Linked DNA regions of Homo sapiens: region 2 is linked to region 1. The links are contacts of gene promoters, found by promoter capture Hi-C in blood cells and fetal thymus (Javierre and others, 2016). All regions are on one chromosome and are shown on one strand. Each heading gives the region's core, a stretch centred on a gene start or on the middle of the fragment in contact. The rest is flanking DNA. Distances are from core to core; before and after follow the strand shown.

Region 1 (7,206 bases), core at 2,202-4,701:
AGTCTGAGGCTATTTCACCTGGAACTCTTCTTCTGGAGTTCCTGGAAATAAACATGGAATCATCTCTTATGTTCTCTGTCTTGGCTCAAGATGCTCTGAGGGTCTGGTTATAGGTCAAGGTGGGATCTCAGTATGATAGCTTTATTTCAGCATCATGTGATGGCACCAGTCATATAAAAATTACAATGCTGGGTGCCATGTGAGGTGAAGGGGAGGTACCAGTGTACAAATAGGAGAATGACACTTTCCTTCTGCATCGGGATATGAGGATGGCCTGCAATATATTAGGCACTAAATAAACATATTTTAAATAAATATATGAGTATATTTTTATTAAATGAGAAAATGCAAAATAGAATTTGGGTCAGATTTTTCTAATTGTCTCAAAATCAGGGATACTGCCCCAAGCTAAGGACAGTATGTTGATAACCAACATACTGCATATGGAGTGACCTGCATATGGAGGCAGCTCCCTCCCATACCGGGTGTTCTGTGGTGTGAAAGGCCACTCATTCACCTCTCCCAGAGTAAACACTGAGGCATGCATTCTCAATGAAGTTGCTATTTTCCATAAAAGGTCACAACTGGTTTTTGGAGTGTAGGATTATCTTAGATATTACAATGGTTGGTTTGTCAATGATCAATTCTACCAAACAAAATCTTATTCCTTAGTACTTAATTGCTCTTGTGTATTCTTGGGTAGCACACAAGCCACACTGACATTGAGTTCATGGCAGATACACAAAATGTCTACAAGATAAGTTCTACAAAATTGCAGTTATTCACAATAGCCAAAATATAGAAACAACTGAAGTGCCCATCAATGTATAAAGGAATAAAAATGTGATTATACACACACATACACACACACAAACATGCAGTAGAATACTATTTAGCTTTTGAAAATCAGAAAATTCTGTCACTTATGACACCATGGATATTATGGTGTGAAATAAGCCAGGCACAGAAAGACAAATACCACATGATCTTGCTTATATGTGGAATGTCGCTTATATGTGGAATCCAAAAAAGTCAAACTCAAAGAAGTAAAGAATAGAATGTTGTTACCAGGGTCTGGGGTGGTGGAGAGTTGGACAAGGAAATGGGAGATGCTGGTCAAAGCCTATAAAGTTGTAGTTAGACATGAGGAATAGGTTCTGGTGATCTATTGCACAGCATGGTGACTATAGTTAATGCATACTTCAAACTAGCTAAAAGAGTAGATTTTAAATGTTCTTACCACAAAGAAGTGATAAGTATGTGAGGTGATGGATATGTTAATTAGCCTGATTTGATCATTTCACTGTGTAGACATGTATAAGAACATCACATTATACCACATAAATATATACAATTATTATTTGTCAATTAAAACCAAGATAAAATTTAAAAAACCATCAAGTTGTACACCTTTAAAAACAAATAAGTTCTACAAAACAATGGAGGACTTTATTTTGAATGGTTTTGCCATCTTACTCGGTATATTCCTTTTCTATCGCTGAATAACAAATTACGACAAACTTAGAGGCTGAATACAACACATATTAATTATTTCACAATTTTTGTCCATTTGTAATTCAGATATAGCTTAGCTGGGTTCTCTGCTTCAAGGTCTCACCAAGCTCCACTCAAGGTGCCAGCTGGGCTGTGTTCTCATCTGGGGGTTTGACTGGGGAAGTGTTCATTCTAAGTTCACTCAGGTTGTTGGCAGAATTCAGGTCTTTGTGGTTGTAGGACTGAGGCCCTCAACTTCTAGGGGCTTCCCTCAGTTCATTGCCATGTGGGCCTTCTCACAGGCAGTTTGCAACATGGCTCCTTGCTTCTTTAAGGCCAGAAGTTGCAAAAAAACTCTAGTGTGATAGATCTTACACAACCTAACATACTCAAGGGGGAGACAGTGCATCACTTTGGCCATATTCTATCAGATAGAAGCATGTCACACACAACTGAGATTACATAAGGGTGGGATAGTTGGGAGTCACCTTACAGTCTGTGTACCTCACCCAATAAGTACAGTTAAAAATTCAAGTGAGTTTTACTAGCTTTAAGTATCTTAAGTTAGCTTTTACCTAAATATTTTTAGTCATCCTTAACTCTCCATTGAATAAAAAGAGGAAGCTTTATAGTTACCCTTCCTATGTATAAAGCACAGACAGATATAAATGCAGTACATAAACCAACAAAGAATATATCTAAGTTATTAAAATTTCATGTTGAGGCTATTATGAGTTGAATTGTATGCCTCCGAAATATATGTTGAAGTCTTAACCACAAGTAGCTCAGAATGTGACCTTACTTGGAAATAGAGTTACAGAGGAAATCAAGTTAAAATGAGGTCATTGAGGTGGGTGCTAATCCAATATGGTGGATGTTTTTATAGGAAGTGGAAATTTGGACACAGAGACAGACATACATGGGAGTAAGATGATGTGAGGATACAGGGAGGGTGGTGCCACCTGCCATCCAACAAATGTTTGAGGCTACCACTGCTAGAAGCTCAGAGACAGACATGGAACAGATTCAACCTCACAGTCCTCAGAAAGAACCAACCCTGCCCACACTTCGATTTTGAATATCTAGTCTCCAGACCTGTGAGAAAATTAATTTCTGTAATTTAAACCACCCAGTTTGCAGTACTTTTTAAGAGCAGCCAAATGCAGTGGCAACAGAGAAATAAAAAACTGAATTTCACAGAAAGAAGTGTAAAATCTGCCAGGGGCCAGGTGTGGTGGCTCACGCCTATAATGCGAGCACTTTGGGAGGCCGAGGCAGGTGGAACTCTTGAGCTCATAAGTTTGAGACCAGCCTGGGCAACATGGTGAAACCCCATCTCTACAAAAAAGACAAAAATTAGCTGGGCATGGTGGCGCGTGCTTGTAGTCCCAGCTACTTGGGAGTTGGAGGCACGAGAATCACTTGAGCCCAGGAGGTGGAAGTTGTAGTGAGCCAAGATCGCACCACTGCACTCCAGCCTAGGTGACAGAGTGAGACCCTGTCTCAAAAAAATAAGTAAAGGTAAAAATAAAATAAAATAAATTACACCCTCCAGAGGCTGGAGGGTGAGAGCTGTGATGGATGCTGTGCCCCGCCCTGTGACCATAGGTGTGAGTCGTTTACCTGAGCAAAGAGATTTGCAACAGACATGGCCACCGGGAGACTTTGTCAGAATTGGGGACCATCCCAGTGTAGTCTTCTGAGTTCTGCCTGTTCTGGGATAAGATGGAGAAAACCCTCCCAAAAGAAATTCTATGGGAACAGGTGAGGGAGAGTTCACTAAACAGGCAGAGGGGAGAACCCACCACACACATACACTGAGGCCCCACTCACCTGCCAGTTCAAGCAGCAGATACAGCAGTAAGGAAGGCAGAGGTGGGTGGAGTGGGGAGGCAGGGATGGGCATTGTGGTGAAACCTGGAGCTTGCTCTGCCTGAATGCCTGTCCTGGAGATGCCCTCGACTCAGTGCTCCGAGCAGAGAAGACAGTTCTTGCCTCTGTGATGTCAGAGGAAGGGGATTGTGATGAGAGGAAAGGCCAGGGGACTGGGACACTTTTTCCTTTGTGATTATAAAATTGAACAGACAAGGTTGCTTCAAGCTAGGAAGTTGCTGCTGGAAGTATTTAGCTTTGCTGGGGCTGGGGGGCTTGACACCCACAGCCTTATACTCCTTCCTGAGTTTCATCCCATCTCACAGGTTCTCCCCAACTTCATGGCCTTTGCCTATCTAGGAGCCTCAGACACATAGGCTAGACAAAGGCCTCATCCACATGATGCGCAGGTATGGGTCTAGCTCCTGCATGAGCTCAACATCTGGGCCTGTCTGAGCTGCACAGCTGAAGAAAGAGACAAGATGTCTATAGCCTCACCCACTTGGTAAGAGTTGGACTTTACAATGGATGCCCTTTCTTGCACTCCAGAGTAGTTAGAGGTAAAAAACAAGCAATATCTGCTGTGGGCTCTTGGCTTTTCTGTGGGTCCCTCCATACACTACCAGGAACTGCTTCCTTTTTCCTTCCTGCAGAGGAATCAGGCATGGCTGAGAAAGACATTCGAGTTGTGCAGGTGGTGATGATTTGTGCTTTAGAGGATGGAGGAGGCCTGCAGGGAAGGCGGAGCTGCGGGGAACACTCTCTAGGAGGGAGAGTAACATGCCTACAAACACCTGGGAAGGTGAGGGCTGCCTCTCCTGCTTGGGCTGGACCTGGGACCAGCTCTCAGAGATGGGATTGGAGGGGCAGAAGAAATGCCCCCAGAAAGAGGGAGGAAGCAGCATGTTGGCATCCTTCTCTCTCAGCTCTGGAATGGGTTCTTCCTAAGCACAAATGTTGTGTTCAGGGACACTCAGCCCACACTCAGCTGGTGACCCTTTAATGTCCAAGCATCCACAGGCAGGCACTGGCTGCCATGGCTGTTTCCCCATTGCCTCCTCATGACTTCTGCCTCCTCCTCAGGAACCAGCTAGATGTCAGGGCCGGGAGAGGTGTTAGACCCTCTAGGAAAAGAAAGCAGAGCCAGGCTGGCACGTTCTCTCTGAGACGACAAGAGTCCCCATCCCCTTGTGATGTCATCATCCTATCCCGTTGTTCTGAAATGATGAATTCCACAAAGGAATTCCTATCCATGGCCCCTGCTTGGAACTAGACAGGAACATTCCTCCAGCCTCCATCATCCTCCCCTTCCCCTACTCTGAGGAATCTTCTCACCTTTCATTAGACTCTAAGTTCCTTGGAGAGTCAGTACTCACGGGTCAGTATCCAAGAGTGCCAGCTTTGGAATCAGATATAATCTAGGCTAGAATCCTGAACGCACCTCCTAAGAGCTGAGTAATCTTGGGCCCATGATACAGACCTGTATATTCTGCAACCTTCTTGACATCTTCATTTGTATATATATATATATATGTATTTTTTTTTTCGAGACAGAGTTTCGCTCTTGTTGCCCAGGCTGGAGTGCAATGGTATGACCTCGGCTCACTGCAACCTCTGCCTCCCGAGTTCAAGTGATTCTCCTGCCTCAGCCTCCCGAGTAGCTGAGACTACAGGCGCCCACCACCACGCCTGGCTAATTTTTGTATTTTTAATAGAGACAGGGTTTCACCATATTGGTTAGGCTGGTCTCGAACTTCTGACCTCAGATGATCCACCTGCCTCAGCCTCCCAAAGTGCTGGGATTTCAGGTGTGAGCCACTGAGCCTGGCCTCTTTGTATACCTTAAATATTCAAGTTTGAGTTTCAGATCTGCACTCACAAACCTTATCTTCTCCCACACCATGCCTGTTTTGTATATGGTACCATCATCTAAGCAGTTTGTCAAACCAGGAAGGGACTCATGTTCTATACCCTCACTTATCCACTTGTTACCAAGTGAAAGGGGGTTGCTGCCTGATGTGCTAGAAGCCAATACTGTGACACCAGGCTTTTGAGAAAAGAAAAGCTTTTTATTGCAAGTTGACTAACAGGAAGACAGAAGTCTACCTCAAATCTAGCTCCATGTGCTGGCTTCAAGGCAGTAGTTTTATTAGCAAAAGTTTAGGGGTTGGATTCTGGGATTAGTATGTGATTTGTGAAAGGAAAGGGGAGGTCTGGAAAGTCCTTGGGCATGTACAGTTATCTCTCTATGCCTCTTCACGGCTCCCATGTGCAAAACCCTGGGGCGTCATCATGAAATACGTGGTAGAAACTCAGGCTGTGACATCAGCAAGCTCATTCTGAGCAAACTCCAGTTGGCCATATTGGTTCCAACAGATTTTAGTCAGTTTTGTTATCCTACAAGTGGAGGAAGTTTCGGCAGTTTAGCAATTTTTTTTTTTTCTTATCTGCTATCCTGTAAACTCAAGAATTTCTTAGTGACTGGTTTCTTTAACTCTTTGGGGGCATAGTTTCACACTCCTATCTTGCCCCTACCAGGCCCTATTGGATTTACCTCCTAAATCCCTTCTGAATTAATCTCTTTCTCCATCTCTATCATCATCTCTTGCCTGAATAAGAACAATTGCCTTCTCACTAGGGTACCCCCATTTTTATTTGCCCCCTATAATCTCTTTCTCCTTCTTCAGCCAGACTGGTCTTTTTACAACATAGATTTAATTATGTCCCTCTCTTGAATAAACATTTTTGTGGATTCTCATTAATCTGGAGGTACTATAAACAAGGCTTTCTTCTGTGACTGACTTGCTCCCTTAGAGATGAAGGGATCCCCACCTTTCTGATACGTAGCATAGCTTCACTGTCCCAGGTTGGGTTCCCTGGGAGACAGACTCTGGGGTGAAGATGAACAAGCAGGTTATCTTTCAGGGAGTACTTTTAGGATCAACACTTGTGGACGGGAGAAGATGGAAGCAGGACTGGGTAGAAGAAGAAGCTGGGCTGCAATGAAGTCCCATTGAAGACCTCAGCTGACCTTGCATGGAGCCTGGTACTAGGATATTCCTCCAGAGTTGCTCTGAGTTAGGATAAGAGAGCTGGGCCTTTATACGACTAGGTTGATGAGTCCAATGAGATGTGGTTTGTTACCAGATACGACCTAAGCAAGGGCACTCCCTTCAGCTGAGACAATCGCAAATAGAGCTGATGCTGAGGACCATCTCCACAGCCAGGTGCCTCTCAGCATCCATTACACAATTCATGGGAACAACTTGTTCCTGTGAAGACTTGGGCTCAGGACATTATTCACTCACTCATAGTCAGGTCCTCAAAGCTATCCCAGCTCACCCACATAACCCAAAGTTTTCTGATCCCACTTGGTCTGACCTGGATTTTACTAATGGGAAAAGTTTAGGGTGAGCATCACGGGGGATTGAGAAGCCACTTCCTCTGGGATCTGAGTGCCTAGATCTGGGGTGAGCTCTGGTAGTGGACAGAGGAAGGACGAGAGGAAAGGAAACCTCAGGCTTTTGAAGTGAGATAAAACTTTGGAATATCAACAAAGTCTCCCTACCGCACATTTCCTTGCATTGTTCCCCACGGGGTACAAGAGGCAAATAAAACCTAGCTGAGGACAAGACGTTAATTTTTTCTAATAGACTTAATTTTTTAAGGACAGCTTTAGATTTACAGAAAAATTGAGCCCTATCATTAGCATCTTACATTGATATGATACATTATTATAATCAATGAACCAATATTGATACATTATGATTAATCAAAGTTCATAGTTTATTTAGATCTTTTCTTTTTACCTAATGTCGTTTTTCTCTTCCAGCATCCCAT
Region 2 (7,206 bases), core at 1,759-4,258, 120 kb after region 1:
GAGCCTTTGGGAAACCGATGAAAAGGAGAATTGCTGGCTCTTCGGTCAGTGGTTTTGTTTAAGGAGCTTTTATTTAGCTCCTCGAACATAGTCCGTGTTGTTTCTCTTTGTCTAGTCTGAAATAGTTGTTACCTGGGGAAAGTAGCCTTCTCTTGGACTGTAGATTAATTCGTGGCCTGGTCCAGCTCCTCTGAACCACTGGACAGGCCCCACAGGGAACAGGGAGGTCGCAGTGCAGTGCAGAGTGGACATCTCTCCAGCTGCGACTGACATGAACTTCTCAGGCTGAATCACCTGCAACTCCTCCTCAGCTTTCACTTTCATGACAAAGCAGTCATTTATTCATCCTTACATGATCCTGTGTGTTTCCTCATGTGTATCAAAGACTTTCATTGATCGAGTGCATATCAGGAGCAGAGCTTGAGCTCAGCACATTGCATATATTATCTCATTTAACCTTCACAACAAGCCTGTAGCTTGTTGTGACATGAGACTGTATTAGAAGTGAGGACAATGAGGCGCAGAGAGGTTCAATTTTAAGATAGAGCTTAAACATGAGACTGTATTAGAACATGAGACTGTATTAGAAGTGAGGACAATGAGGCACAGAGAGGTTCAATTTTAAGATAGAGCTTTGGGTTGAGGACCTGAATGGAGCTCCTGAGCCCTCTTTGGAAGTGTCATACTTTGCTAAATATTTTTGCCTTCACTTTCTGGCCATATGGAGTATTGCAATTTCTGGACCATTTCATTGACTGAGGTCATGTAACTGCTTTAGACCATTGAGTCATGAGTAGAAATGATGAGCATAATACGTGGACTGTGCATTCAAATGCAAGAACCTCTATGGATCACCTTCTCCCTTCCGCAGAGACCCACAAGGCTCTGATGGAGTCTGCTCCATCAGCCTGGATTCCTGAGTGACAGTGACATGCAGAATCCCCAACACACCATGAAGATGCAGCTTAAAAAGAAATAACATTGTTTTAAGCCCCTGGGAATTTTTCACCCATAGCATAAGTTTCCTAATGCTGATACGACTAATTACCAAAACTTGGTGTGTTACAACAAAAGAAATGTATCATATTGTAGTTCTGGAATTCAGAAGCCCAAAATTGTGTGACTGCGTTACAATCAAGAAGAAAAGTCAAGTATGTAAAGGTGAAGAATAAAATGGTACTGACCAGGGTGAAGTGCAGGGAGGTAATGGTGAGATACAGGTCAAAAAATACAAAATTGAAGATAGGTCAGATGAGGAAGTCCAGAGATCGAACATGCCATATATCGACAACTAGAGTTAACAATATTGTATTGAATTTAGTATTTTTGCTTAAAGAGTATATTTCATGGGCTCTTGACACACACCCACATGCAGAGTAACTGTGAGATGATGGATATGTTCATTTGCTTGACTATAATAATCATTACACTATGTATATGTATAGGAAAGCATCATGTGGTACACCTTACATATATACAATTTTTTTAAAAAACAGCTATGTTTTCTGGAGTCTCTGTTCTTTGCCTTTACTAATTCTGGAAGCTGGTAACATTTCTTTTCTCATAGTTACGTCTTCCCATCACTCCAGCCTCTGGCTTGCATCCTCACATGTGCTTCTCTAACTCCTAATTTCCTGCCTCCTCCTTCTTATAAGGACTCATGTGATACACTGTGGGCCCACCCTGATGCTAGACCAAGATGTTAAAACCACTGTCTTCAACACGTTCAAAGAGCTAAAGGAAACAATAGACAAACAACTAAAATAATTCAGGATTATGATACAGTAACAAAATAAGAACTGTAACAAAGAGAAATTATAAAAAGAAATCAAACGAGAACTTTAGAGTTGAAAGTATTACAACTAAAAGTTCATTAAAGAGGTTCTCTAACAAGTGAGCAGGTGGGAAAAAAATCAAGAAACTGGAAGATGAAATCATTGAAATTATTGACAGTGAGGTATAGATACAACAAAAATGAAAGATAATAGAATCTAAGGGAATGATGATACATTATCAAATCGATAAAAATACACATTACTAGAGTTCTGGGGGAAAAGAGAAAAAGAGAAAGGGGCAGAAGATTATTGGAAGAAATCATGAACAAAATCTTCCCAAACTTGATAAAATACATGAATCTACAAGCTTAAGGTGCCAAGGAAACCCAAATTTAACTCAGCGATAAAGTCAAAGAGACCCACATTAAGACACATTATAATCCAACTGTCGACAATTAAAGTCAAGGAAAGAATTCTGAAAGCAGCAAAAGAGAAGCGATTCCTCTCACGCGAGAGATCCTTGTAAGATTATCAGCTGAGTTCTTATCAGAAGCATTGGAGGCCACAAGACAGAGGAATGATATGTTTAAAATGCTGAAAGAGGAAAAACCTATCAACCAAGAACTCTACACCTGGCAAACATCCTTCAAACACAAGGGAGAAATTAAGATATTCTCAGATAAATCCTCAGCCATGGATCCTTGCGTGAATAGCACGATGTCTCCAGGCCCAAACTTCCCTGATCTGTAGAAGGGGTGGCATCAGGTCATGAAAATGAGCACCCACCACCACACCCAACTGGTGTGGTGAGAGTTTATGACCACTAAACCTTACCTACAAAAACGCTAAAAGGAGTGCTTTGGGTGGAAATGAAAGGATGCTACATGGCACTCAAAATTGTATGAGGAAATAAAGATGTCCAGTTAGGTGTACATTTAAAAAATTCATATTTTCCTGATGCCTCAACATCCCTGAAACAAGCTGTGAGCACCCTACCAAATGACCAGGTACAGCAGTGTGATAAAGCTGGTCCCTGCCACAATTCCCCTTTTTGTCCTCCTCTGCTGTGACCTAGTAGAGTAGTGGCATTAAAACATACCAGTGAATCCATCATGGTTTTTGTGTCCTCCACCCTAACTCCCAGTAAGACACTTGCCTGGGGTTCCAATCTGTCTTGCTTCCCCATCTGCTTGGTTGAGCCTGCTTCACGGAAGCTCCTTCCATATGGCTTCCTACCTGGCATGCCATACCCCACTCTCTGGGAACTATGAGTAGAATAAATTGTTCATCTTCATATGTCTCTCCAAATGAAATTTTCACAGTCATGTTAGAGTGTTCTTTATAGACCCAATCAGCAGGACTTACTCTACCATTTTCAACACTAATGGCAATGAGAATGGGATCATTCTAAACTAGGGTGGAAAGTTCCTAGGAGATTCCCTTTGAATGCTCATGGCTTGCTAATTTGCTACTCTGATTGGCTCAACCATTTGGGAGATGCTATTACCCTGATGGCTTTCTTGTACTCTGCTTTCTTCAGCTTTGTGTTGCCTTTTGGGAGTGTTACCAAGACTCTCCATCCTAAAGTGGGGATCATGTCTCAATATCAATAATGGCATCCACCTTTCTTCAGGAGCACAGAGATGACATTACATTGATAACAACATCTTTAAAACAGATTCATTTGACACACGTATTAATGTCATATAATCCAACACCTTTAAGTTTCTGTTAAATGCTAGTGGCAACATATTCTTTTACACATCATCGAAAACAATACTCTTGTTAGTGCCTTCAAACAAACGGACAAACAAACAAAAATACCTCTTCTCTATAAAAATTTTGCCAACTTCTTTCATGCCTGTTGGAGTCTCTTCACCACTCATGTTGGCCATGAATTTCCCCAGGGCTTTTGATGCAGAAACAATGCCCCTCTTGGCCTCATCCTATATTCCATTAAAACAACAAATGACTGGTTACCTACTGGGATCCCCTGGTCTGGAGTACAGTTCTACAAGGCATACTTTCCTGTTGCAATCATTAACCATAAATTGTCCCACATCCAGGCTTTGCTCACCTGATATGAAGCGCATTGGAAACTAAGCTTCCACTAGAACACAAAATTAAAATCACTGCCAGGTCCAGCTGCACACCATTCTGTTGACAGTTGGCATTATTACTGCTAGGTTTGTTAATGCAAAAATACTCAACCAAATACTAGCAAACTGAATTGAATAGCATAGTAGAAGGATAATACACCATGAGCAGATAATAGTTATTCCTGAAATCCAAGGATGTTTCAGTAAACAAATGACAACAATGTAATGTACCATATTTATGGAATAAAGGGAAAAACACATGATTATCCATTTGATGCAGAAAAGCCTTTGACAAATGTGGCTATCTTTCTATGACAAAAATAATCAATAAAAGGAATATATGAAAACATTCAAAATTATAAGTCATATACTCATACTTTCTTGTTTTTTTGGCACTATCTAATTTACTATTCACTGTCTAATTTACTATTTTATTTACCTCCTTATCATGGGTATTGGTTACTGTCATTCTCCAGTGGATATAAGGAACAAAAGGGAAACTACTTTTTCTATTTTATTCACCAGTGCACCCAACATTTCTATGTCAGGTCCTGGAACATAGTAGATATCCAATAAATATGTGTATAATGTGTGAATTGCTCAGTGGGATACTTTCTTAAGAGACTGAAATCTTTTATTTTAAATGGATTGTTTCTGTTGAATTTGGAGAAAATAAATTTCCCATGTAGATGAGTTGGTGAAGAAAAAATCAATTTGCAATCATACAGAAAGCAGAAGAGCCCAGGAGAAGAAAACTACACATCCTCTTCCTCATACCACACCCCTGCACACACTCATACTAGCAGCAGCTGCAGAAATCTCATGGAATAGAATCAGGGCCAGAAGTATTTGGGAAGAGTAATGGTGAAAACTGTGATCTCTAGATTAAGAGTGCCTGAGCTCAAATCATAGCTCTGCCAATTACCAATGAATGACCTTGGAATGCTTTGTGCTTCTGTTTCCTTATCTATGTGTGTGTGTGGTGGGGGGCAGGGGGTGATAAGAATCTCTACCTTGGATATAATGATCATCCAAAGTAAGAGCTGTAAGATGTTTCCAACAGTGTCTGCCACATGGAGGGTGTTCAAAAATTATAAAGTTGGCCAGGCACAGTGGCTCAAGCCTGTAATCCCAGTACTTTGGAAGGCTGAGGTGGGCAGATACCTGAGGTCAGGAGTTTCAGACCAGCCTGGCCAACATGGCAAAACCCTGTCTCTACTAAAAATAAAAATAAAAAAATAGCTGAGGGTGGTGGCACACCCCTGTGGTCCCAGCTATTCAGGAGGCAGAAACATGGCAATCACTTGAACCCAGGAAGCAGAGGTTGCAGTGAGCTGAGATCGCAACACTGCACTCCAGCCTGGGTGACAGAGTGAGACCTTGACTCAAAAAAATGAATAAATAAATAAAATAAAGTTTTTACTCAGTAGATTTCCTGAAGCTTGGAGGCTTCAATGGACATTAGATGATGAGGATATAGGTATGACTATGGATATGGATATAACTAATATAACTATAGATATAGTTACTATATAGATATAGATGCTATAGGCCGAAGTTTCTGCAACTTTATCCACTTCTTTCTTCCTCACACCTACCCTTCATGAAAGTGGGAACACTAATAGAGTAATGCATGGAAGTTCTATTTTGAGGGACTATGCATTTTACCAAGAGGTTTGCTTATCTATTGCTTATCTTAACAGATTGGGGGACTTTGAGGGGTAAGATCAGAGAAGTAAAAAAGAAGAGAGAGTGTGGGCAACAGGGAAAACCAAATATCTCTTTAATGTGCATTTCATATAGACTAAGAAATGGTTAGAAGGAAATAATAAGAAAAGTCTTTTAAAAATCCTGTGTGTGTTTCGCATAGTCAAGTGAGATTTATCCCAGGAATGTAAGGATGGGTCGATATTCAGCAATCTCTCCATGTGACACACTACATAAACAGAATGAGTGACAAAAACCCTATGACCATCTCAACACAGGCCCCAAAAATGCATATGAAAAAATTCAACATTTTTAAGTGATAAAAACTGTCAATGAATTACATATAGGATGATTGTTCCTCAACATAATAAATGCCATATGGGACAACTCCATAAAAATGAACTCACATATTTACACTTAATTGATCTTTGATAAAAGTTTCAAGGACACACAATAGGGAAAAGTCAATCTCTTCAAAAATGTTATTGAGTAAACTGGATATCCATGTATAGAGAAATAAAATTGGAACTTCATCTCATACCACATACAAAAATCAACTCAAAATGGATTAAAGACTTAAATGTAAGATCTGAAACTGTAAAGTACTAGAAGAAAAGTTCTGTAACATTGGTCTAGGCAATCAGTTTCTAGATATCAGCCCAAAAGCACACACAACAGAAGCAAAAATAGACAAATTGAATTACAACAAACTAAAAAGCTTCTACATGTGCATTTCTCGTGGATATAGAAATGAATGTGGGATTACATACATAGCCAAGAAAACAATCAACAGAGTGAAGAGACAACATACAGAATGGGAAAATATATTTGCAAATTATACATTTGATAAGGAGTCAATACACAAAACATATAAAGAACTCAAGCAACTCAATTATAAGGCAACAACTCACTCAATTAATATATGGGCCAAAGACCTGAATAGACATTTCTCAAAAGAAGACATTAAAATGGCCAGCAGGCATATAAAAAATACCCAATCTTACTATTCATCAGAGAAATGCAAATTAAATCCATAGTGAGGTATCATCTCACACCTGTTAGAATGGTTATTATCAAAATGAGGAAATTTAAGTAGCATTGGAGAGTATGTGGAGAAAAGAGAATCCAACCCACTGTTGGTGAGAATGTAAATTAGTACAGCCATTATTGAAAACAGTATGGAGTTTCCTCCAAAAATTAAAAATAGAACTATCATTAGATCCAGCAATCTCACTTCTGGGTGTATATCCAAAGGAAGTAACATCAGCATGTCACAGCGATATCTGCACCCATATCCATTGCAGCATTATTTACAGTAGCAAAAATGGAATCAACCTAAGTGTCTATCAACAGATGAATGGAGAAAGAAAATGTGGTATATATACACAATGAAATTCTAATCAGCCTTACAAAAGAAGGAAATTCTGTCATTTCCAACCTGGAGGATACTATGCTAAGTGAAATAAGCCAGGCACAGAAAGACAAATACCACATGGTCTCACTCATACACTGAATCTAAAAAAGTTGAACTCACACAAGTAGAGAGTAGAGCCTATAATCACAGCACTTTGAGAGGCTGAGGCAGGTGGATCACCTGAGGTCAGGAGTTTGAGACCAGCCTGGCC

The links. Contacts are between HindIII fragments. The CHiCAGO score rates a contact against its expected background, and 5 or more counts as called.
Region 2: a contact is called between a fragment that was not itself captured here and the fragment with the promoter of SIRPD in region 1, in 3 of 17 cell types (activated CD4 T cells, naive CD4 T cells and non-activated CD4 T cells). The highest score is 5.8, in activated CD4 T cells.

What each region holds. Positions count from the first base shown.
Region 1 is chr20:1,554,254-1,561,459 of GRCh38, forward strand. SIRPD (signal regulatory protein delta) reads right to left here and starts at 3,452. Exons shown (of 4, transcript NM_178460.3): 1 at 3,328-3,452. The coding sequence starts at 3,400. LOC107985409 (a long non-coding RNA gene) reads left to right here and starts at 3,754. Exons shown (of 3, transcript XR_007067493.1): 1 at 3,754-3,871; 2 at 6,292-6,412; 3 at 7,199-7,206. It overlaps SIRPB1 (signal regulatory protein beta 1), which reads right to left. Exons shown (of 6, transcript NM_006065.5): 6 at 7,132-7,206. The HindIII fragment of the contact is 3,313 bases long and covers 2,117-5,429 here.
Region 2 is chr20:1,676,575-1,683,780 of GRCh38, forward strand. It overlaps a transcript of SIRPG not described here. Among named protein-coding and RNA genes, the nearest start is that of SIRPG, 22 kb to the left of the region's middle. The HindIII fragment of the contact is 1,737 bases long and covers 2,141-3,877 here.